Linked DNA regions of Homo sapiens: region 2 is linked to region 1. The links are contacts of gene promoters, found by promoter capture Hi-C in blood cells and fetal thymus (Javierre and others, 2016). All regions are on one chromosome and are shown on one strand. Each heading gives the region's core, a stretch centred on a gene start or on the middle of the fragment in contact. The rest is flanking DNA. Distances are from core to core; before and after follow the strand shown. Region 1 overlaps KANSL3 (KAT8 regulatory NSL complex subunit 3). Region 2 holds the start of STARD7-AS1 (STARD7 antisense RNA 1).

What was found. Contacts are between HindIII fragments. The CHiCAGO score rates a contact against its expected background, and 5 or more counts as called.
Region 2: a contact is called between the fragment with the promoter of STARD7-AS1 here and a fragment that was not itself captured in region 1, in 2 of 17 cell types (total CD4 T cells and non-activated CD4 T cells). The highest score is 5.6, in total CD4 T cells.

What each region holds. Positions count from the first base shown.
Region 1 is chr2:96,592,367-96,596,773 of GRCh38, forward strand. KANSL3 (KAT8 regulatory NSL complex subunit 3) reads right to left here. Exons shown (of 21, transcript NM_001115016.3): 21 at 806-3,265. The coding sequence ends at 3,245. Among named protein-coding and RNA genes, the nearest start is that of KANSL3, 44 kb to the right of the region's middle. The HindIII fragment of the contact is 1,896 bases long and covers 1,402-3,297 here.
Region 2 is chr2:96,207,040-96,211,470 of GRCh38, forward strand. STARD7-AS1 (STARD7 antisense RNA 1) reads left to right here and starts at 1,377. Exons shown (of 4, transcript NR_046322.1): 1 at 1,377-1,940. It overlaps STARD7 (StAR related lipid transfer domain containing 7), which reads right to left and starts at 1,788. Exons shown (of 8, transcript NM_020151.4): 1 at 1,106-1,788. The coding sequence starts at 1,395. RefSeq lists silencers at 1,205-1,464, 1,815-2,034 and an enhancer at 1,482-2,072. The HindIII fragment of the contact is 17,331 bases long and covers 1-4,431 here.

The DNA of each region.
Region 1 (4,407 bases), core at 1,100-3,599:
ATTTATTGGCGGTGGGTGGAGGTATAGGAAGTGCGAAAGGATACTGATCTTTCAGGATCAAGGTTGAGGGACCCCACCTACTGACGTAGGCTCAGCCAAGAGCCCCACCATATCAACATCAATTACTCTTGGCCTGGTGGGAAGTAAACTGAAAAGGTCACGTGCAGGCCAAGCCACCATCTCCTCACCTCCTGGGTTAATCTCTACCTCCAGTCTCCCATCTTAGAACCCTAGCACAATGCAGAGTAGAAAAGACACTGACATCAGACTGTCTGGGTTCCAGTACTGCTTCTGCCATTTCCTGCTGTTTTGACTGCTCTGTGCCTGTTTCCTCACTTATAGAAAGGAAATTACAGGCTGGGTGTGGTGGCTCACGCCTGTAATCCCAGCACTTTGGGAGGCTGAGGCGGGCGGATCACAAGGTCAGGAGTTTGAGACCAGCTTGGCCAACATAGTGGAACCCTGTCTCTACTAAAAACACAAAAAATTAGCTGGGCGTGGTGTCGGGCGCCTGTAATCTCAGCTACTTGGGAGGCTGAGGCAGGAGAATTGCTTGAACACAGGAGGCGGAAGTTGCAGTTAGCCAAGATCGCGCCATTGCACTCCAGCCCAAATAACAATGCGAGACTCCATCTCGAAAAAAAAAAAAGGAAATTACAGTACCCCCTCATACCACCTGGCATTGGTGAGGTGATGATCACTGGCCTTACAATATCTTAGCTCTACCTTTGGTGCCCACTTCATTGGGTGGTTTCCAGAATACATATGAGAAGTCAACTGAAAAGAAGCTGAAGCAATCCAAATGTTGTTTTTGGTGTTTTTAATTGTTTTTGTTAATGTAAAAACAGAACCATCACAGCCGCTCAGCTCTATAACCCATCCAGCCCAAGACTGTTCTAGTGGTGAAACCAAGAGTAGACAGGTCTTCCTACCTCAGTGACCTCAAAACACAAGGACATCTCCATAGGGCATCAACATGCATCTGTCATCCAAGAATCTAAGAACTTCCTGATCCTTCCACATTTTCTATCAATAATATTGCCTTCTGAGGTTATGGATTCCAGGTCTTCTATGAAATAGGTAAAGCTTCCTTTCGCGTTCCAAGAAATATAGTTTGCGAAGGGAACTGGAAAACGTGACTCTAGGCCTCAGCCACTTCCTCTGTTACCCTGTGCAAGTTGTAGAACAATCCACGTTCTCACAGCTCCCCTTCTTCAGTTGTGGAGTTCTTCAAGGTGGACAGATCACACCTCAGGAAGTCATCCCTTGTAAGCACACTAGAATTTATCATAAAGGCAGGTCGGCTTGTTAGTTTTTCTTTGTCCCCAGCATACACTGAGCCAACAACTTAAGTCATGAATGGGTTGTTTAGGGCTCTGTCTGTCCTAAATGATTCCTAAAAGCTTCATATAGCTCATATAGTCTTATTGTCCACTGCTCTTTTGGTGTGGTATGATCCTACCTGTAAAGCTATCAAACCCCTGGGTCCTGGATGCCTCCTCCAGATTTCATACCTTCCTCAAGTTTACTAAATACTTTCTGAATTTAAGAATTTTGAGAAAGTCACCTACCAGCTAATGCAAAAACACAGCCTAATTCTGTGTGAATCCCTGTTGAGATCAGCTTTTCAGGTCAGGGAGGGAAGGTATGGGGTTTAGGGTACCCTCTCCTATCACACACATCCCCCCTGCCCACAGTACCCTGACCTACCTTGCCTGAGACTCCTAGACACTATGAGCTCCCTTCTGGCTGCCACTCAGACTGGCCAGGAAGGCTCCCAGATTGAACACAGGTGACCTGGTATAGATACACACTGTACTGTGGGCCAGAACCATGGACTACATTTTAAGCCATGTTGTGGGCCCTTCCTGCCTACAGAAAAGGACACTTGAGTGGAGTCACACTTGGGTTGCCTAATTTATTACCTTAACTAGAAACATTCTAAGTATGGGAGCCTGTTCTGGAGGATAGCTTCTAAACCAAATCTAAAACTATCTTTGCACACAAGTGTTGTGAAGAGGTAAGCAGGGGATCAGAGCTCCATCTTCTGTGACCACTTCTCCAGGGACTGCCACCTATAGGGCTCAGGTTGGTACCAACAGCCCTGCATAGTAGAGTCACTGTCAATCATCTTCCCACTTGTAAGCAGGAAGACAAAAAGTCTCATGAAATAGAAACGAAAACACTGAAGCATGGCCTTCATCGTCCTAATGCCACAAGTTTCCTGGGATGGCCAAGATACTACCTTAGCTTATTGTCCCTGCTTCACCTCCAGAGACTGGAGACAGAGGATTTTCCGGGGTTGGGGTTTCTTCTCTGACTTGGCAAATTCTTCTTTTTATCTCCAGCTGAACCACCAGTTCCTTGGGTAGCAGAGCAGAGACCTAAGCACAAACCACAGGGCTTACTAGCACATCCTTCAAGCCACTTCCTTTGCTGTTCTATTACTCTTCTTCAGCTTATCTGAACCTGCGGACTCTCTGGATACAGAAACTGCCCAAAGCATGGTGAAAAAGACAAAGGGCCCAGGTTTCACCTGGCAACCACTGCTCCCAACATCTAGAGTAAGTCAAAGAGGCTGAAAGATGACAGCCTAGTTCTCTTTGCCTTCATTATGATACTAACAAAAACCAGAAGTTTCCAGGAGTCAGCAAGCTACTCAGTATCTGACGTGGTTTCTAAGGTGGAGTTGCATGGGGAGCACTCTCCCGTGGCTGCTGAGTGAAGGCAACAGTGATGTCCAAAACAAGCCCGTCCGGCTCTGAACCACCAGTTGGCAGGCCAGGATGACTCCAGTCTTTAGCAAAGAGCTTTCCATTCTAACTCCCGAAATCCCAGACCAGATGGATGTCTCCTCCCAACTAGGCGCAGAGGGTAGCACAGACTTCCAAAAGGAAACACCTTCATTAAATGCAGCAGGCAGTCCTATATGCTGACCCTTGGGTCAAACCACAGCTTAAGCGGGGGAAGAAGTGGTTCTGATCCATGTACAGCCAGATCTGCTGAGGAGTCTGGGGTTCCCAGGAACCAGATTTGCAGATCCTGGACGATGGTGCTTCCCTTGCTGGCACCGTATCACCTAACCTAATGGTTTCTCTGAAGACAGTTGGCGGAGAGGCAAAAATGACTGTCTTAAACAGGTCTTCCGACACGTGGACAGCTCAGCAGGACCACACACCTGTCCAGGGCCCACCATGAGGCAGCCATCACCAACTTGGTAAGGAGGACATATCACACAGCATCTTCAGGGTGCTGGAGGCAGGCGCTGTGGCAGGAGAGGTAGTGAAGAAGGGTCAAAGCTTTGACAGGTTATCATCATATTCAGACCCTCTATCCCAATTATCCCAACTCCTGAGAATTTATTTTAAAGAATTAATTCTCAATAGGAAAGAAGTTGGATACACAAGGACACATGTTCTAGCTGCCAAGTGGTTAACAGAACATGGACTCTAGAGTGAGAGACTCAACTTTCCACTTTTTAAGGCAAGTGCCTATGTTCTCTGAGCCTCCTTTTCCTCGCCTGTAAGAGGTAGATGACAGCATCTACTTTCCAGGGTCACCGTAAGGATTAAATGAAATAATCCACATAAAGCTCCTGAGTTTAATCTGTGCTCAACAACAAAGGTCACCTCATATTATTACACATGAAGACAGAAAAGGAATGCAGAAAAAAGGAAATAGGTGAGTTTTTAAGGGCAACAGAACAGAAGGGAAGATTTCCGTGACTTCTGATTTTGAGGCCTTAGACATGTAGGTGTGGGGGGATGCCATCAATGTTGAGCCCTGCAGCTTAAGAATAAGGAAGCAAGTAGAGAGGGTGGCCTTTTTTACCAACGCTTTCCCCACTTTTCTAAATTTCCCCCTTGGGAAACTCCTAAGAGGTCTCTGAGAATGTAGTAAAGGAGGGAAGGCCAGGCGAGGTGGCTCATGCCTATAATCCCAACACTTTGGGAGGCCAGGCAGGAGGACTGCTTGAGCCCAGAAGTTTAAGACCAGCCTGGGCAACTTAGCCCATCTCTACAAAATTTTTTCAAACATTAGGTGAGCATAGTGCTGCATGCCTTATAGGCCCAGCTACTCGGGAGGCCGAGGCCACAGGATTGTTTGAGCCCAAGAGGTTGAGGCTGCAGTGAGCCATAATCACACCAATGAAGAGGAGTTTGACAATCAAACCTCATGACTTCAATCCCAGCACTTTGGGAGGCTGAGGTGGGAAGACTGCTGGAGCCCAGAGTTCCAGACCAACCTGGGCAATATAGCAAGACCCCATCTCAATCAAAAACAAAAACAAAACCTCATGGGCTTCCCTGCCCAAAGGCAGGGCTGTACACAGATGATCACTCTGTTCTGATTATGAATACACCTTAGAGTGAGCCAGCTTGCCCACAGCCTGCTACAAGGCTACAG
Region 2 (4,431 bases), core at 127-2,626, 390 kb before region 1:
TATTATTTTAAGTTGCATTTATAAAAGTTATCTTTCCTGCTAGGAAAAGTATTCCCAGTTCTTAAGATAGACTTGCATTTACCCACAATTCATAGTGTGGCACAAATAGCTGCCTGGCATCTGGGTGTTACACCTCCCACACAGGCCATGGTATAAACTTTATTGGGGTATTTCCATTTTTAACCTAACAAAAAATGTGGAATAACAGGTTGTTTCCCTGTGGAGGAAATATCAAGAATAAACAGGCGAGTGTGGAATCTGCGGAGGGAGGGGATTGTCTCTGGTTCCCGAAATCACGGCAAAGTACTTTCTGTGCAGGGAGGGCACAGTTTAAGAATATCTGTTGCAAAGAAAATACAGACACAAGGTAAACCAAAAACCAAAGCAAAGTTTCCCCATGACATTACCTGGAAACTACAGTCTCAGAACTACAGATTAACAAACGTAATCAATGGTACTGGGCTTTTCACAGTTTTGATGACGACAGCATGACTTCAGAGTCTAATGGGACACTATTCCCAAAGTTCTAGTTAACGTCGCAAAAATCTGACCTAATTCTTACAGGTTCAAATGTCTGGGCTGCTGGTTTGTGTAACCTGGACAAAATCGCTTCCAGGCTCTCAATTTTGCCACGAGTCACGATGACAGAGGGCTCTCCTGGCTTTTCTCACAGGCCTGAGTCCCATCTGGATTGAAGTCATTTTGCAAATAGCAGCCCACCACCCTTAGGCCAAATTTAAAATTTGTTTTGAATTTGCACCTTTCTGGTTGTGTTAAAGATTACAGATTACATGAACAAGGGCCTCCATGCCTTCGCTATCTAATTGATTTCTACAGTGTTGTTTCTTTACTGTCTTGCTCGCCCCACTCAAAGTCTCCCTCCTACACACCAGCCTACACACTTTCAGTTCTATTTTATAACCCGACAAATGCAAATTGACACACAGAGACAAATAACAACGCGGTTTGCTGAAGCAGGTTCAATCGACTGTATTGCCAATTAAAAGACCACCGGGTAAACAAGGGCCAACGACCACAGGGCAGGCCCCAGGGTTCACAAGCCCCCCCACCCCACGGCCCAGAAAGAGCTCGCCGCAGCGCCCACCTCTGCAACTCCTCCTCCTGGATCCTCTCCTCGTCCCAAACGAAGACGCCGGCTAACGCCGCCATCAAGGCAGAGGCATGGCCAGGACGGCCGTGCAGCCGGCGCCAGAGGCGGCCGAGGAGAACGCGGCGTGAGCTCTCGGAGTAGAGGCGGCCGTAGAGCTGCGCGATCTGCTGCGCGCGCCGCACGCGCAGGCCCGTGACGAAGCGGCACTGATTGGCCAGAAGCGCCAGCAGGCCCCCGCCCCGCGTCCCCGCCAGCCAGGCGGCCAGCAGCCTCCGCGGGAGCATGCCGCCTCCCGCAGGGCCCGCCGCGAGCTTCCGGGGCCCAAGGAACCAGTCCGGAGGGGCGCAGGCGGTGGTCGCAGCGTCCCCCTAAATGGCCGGCCACGAACCCGTCTCACGGTCCCGCGGCCAGGAGCCGCCGCTCATCTGTCTCTGCAGCCACCGCTGAGGAAGAGTCTCCTCTGAGGGGAGAGTCGGTCATGGCAGCAGACGCCGGGATGGCTCCGCGACTGCTACACCAGGCACTCCTGGGCCCGGGCAGCAGACCAGTCAGCCCTGTGGCTCCTCGGCGACCTCCAGCGGGCGCCCGGGGCCGGGATGCAGGGCGCGCGGACAGAAACGAGACAGACAGCTCAGGCCCAGCAGCACGCAAGCTCCCGCGCCTTCCGCGACTGCCACACGCGCGGCGCGCGCGCACCCTACTTTTTCTCCGCCACCTGGGCCGTGATTGGGCGCGACCTGGGCTCCTGGGTGCTCATTGGCGCCGTGAAGTGCTCGTCACCGCCCCCTCCTGCCCCTTCATGCATGCGCGGAGGCCGCCTGCTAGCAAGGTAGGTGGCTCGGCGGCGAGAGCCGTCAAGGGCGCATTGGAGAGTGACCCTCGGACCCGGCTGCCGCCGTCGCCGCCATCTTCCGGCCGTCCCAGCCCCGCCCCGCGGAGAAACCTGGCCAGGTTCCTGTTAGAATCCTGCCAGGTGTTAACTTGTTTTAAGAGGCCGGCACGCTGGCCCCCTTCTTTATTAGAGTGCAGGGTGGGGGCGGGGCTCCGCATGTCTCTGCGGGGGCTGGGGGCTCCCAGTGATAACCGCCATTGCAGAATTAAAACTGAGACAGTGAAAGAGATCTGACCTAACCAATTCCATCTTGCTTCTGTCCTTGTTCATTCCTGAGCTTAGGTGAACTAATTTTGGGAGGAACTTAGTTTATAGTTTAAAATAAAGAGGATAACAGCCCTTTCCCAAAACAAATCTTCTTATCTGGGAACTAGACTGCCTTTGTAGGACTAATAAGTTAGCCATAAGATTGGAAATTATGGTTTAGGAGTCATGCAGCTGGAGGCTACGATATTGTGATCCCCCTAAACTGCTCTTAAGATCAGTGCTTGAGATATTTTGCTGACCCCGCACTGGTTGGATCCTGGCACCACCCAGATGGATAAACTGGCTCATCTGACCTTGTGGCCCCCACCCAGGAACCAACTCAGTGCAAGAGGACAGCTTCAATTCCCTATTATTTCATCTCGACCCAACCAGTCAACACTCTGGACTCACTGGCCTTCCCCCACCCACCAAATTATCCTTAAACACTCTGATCCCGGAATGCTAAGGGAGACTGATTGAGTAATGTTGAAACAAACTCCAGTCTCATAGTGGGCTCTGCGTGAATTACTCTTTATTGCAGTTCCCCTGTCTTGATAAATCGGCTCTGTCTAGGCAGTGGGCAAGGTGAACCCATTGTACGGTTACAAATTTGGGGGTTCGTCTGGGATACCCCTTGTGGCTACCTGTCCATGGTTCGGTAGCCCCACCTCTGGTGACAGATCCAGAGGCCAGCCTAAGCGGCCACATAGTTCTCTTGGACTAGGGGCTAACTCTGGCACCGTCTCTGCCAGTGGGGCACTGCTAGCCCAATATGCATGGACTTAATCGCAATGGAGAAATAGTCCTGGGGAGACATCCCATAACTGTAGCCCTGTCACAGGGTATCTGTAGCTCCATAGCGGGGCGCTGTAGCCAGGTCATGGAGTGTCTGTAGCTATAGCCCCATCATGGGGTGGCAGGTTGCTGAGTATCCTAGGTGCTGCCAGTGCCTCCTTCCTTCTCCGGACTGATTCTGTAGCCACATGGTGGGTGTCTGTAGCTCCACCATGGGGTGTCTGTCTCAGTTTGGCTCCTGGGGCATCCCAGTTGGCTGTCCCTAACTAGGAAGAGTCTTGGTTCGGGAGACTTCTCAATCAGGAATATTTCAGGGAGATTTGTCAGATGGAGAATAGGAGGATAGTTTGGAAGGGGTACTCTTGGAGTTCTTGGTTAGGGACCTTAATTTGGAAGGCCTTCTGTCTGTCTTGTCTTCGTGTGTGTGTTTGTATATATGGAGGGGATCTCTGAAGGAATTGCTGATGAAAATCCAGCAGGCCTAACTTGGAGAACACTCCTTATTTATCTAGTCACATTCAGTGAGCCCTGAAAGAAGTTTAACAGGCCTGATTCAGGGTGACTGCTCAGAGACCACCCATTGAATTCACGATTCAATGACCCACCGTGCCTGGCCTTAAAAGGATTTTTTCTTAGAAAAAAGAGCTCTAGGCCGGGCATGGTGGCTCACACTTTTAATCCCAGCACTTTGGGAGGCCAAGGCGGGCGGATCACGAGGTCAGAAGATCCAGACCATCCTGGCTAACACGGTGAAACCTCGTCTCTACTAAAAATACAAAAAATTAGCCGGGCGTGGTAGTGGGCACCTGTAATCCTAGCTACTCGGGAGGCTGAGGCAGGAGAATGGCGTGAACCCGGGAGGTGGAGCTTGCAGCAGTGAGCCGAGATCGCGCCACTACACTCCACCCTGGGCGACAGAGCGAGACTCCGTCTCAAAAAAAAAAAAAACAAAGTTGACTTATAGAGCCAATAAGCCAAAAAATTGACTTATAGAGCCCCTTGGGAAATCTGGCCTCATACTATGTCAACACAGTCCCTGTACGAGGTTCCTGACCTGTGGTAAGTAAAGAATGTCACTTTCTAACAGGCTCAGGAGACCTAAGTTATCTTGACACCTCAAGAGGAGAGGAATTTACCCAACTCATAGGTATTCGAGGGTACAAACCCATGGCTGGGCTTGGCTTTAAAAAGGTCTTATCTAAGATTTCTTATGGAACAGAGTTCCATCAAAGCCAATTTTAAAAGCCTATGTGAAGGCCAGGCGCAGTGGCTCACACCTGTTATCCCAGCACTTTGGGAGGCCAAGGCAGGCAGATCACAATGTTAGGAGTTTGAGACTAGCCTGGCCAACATGGTGAAACCCTGTCTCTACTGAAAATACAAAAAG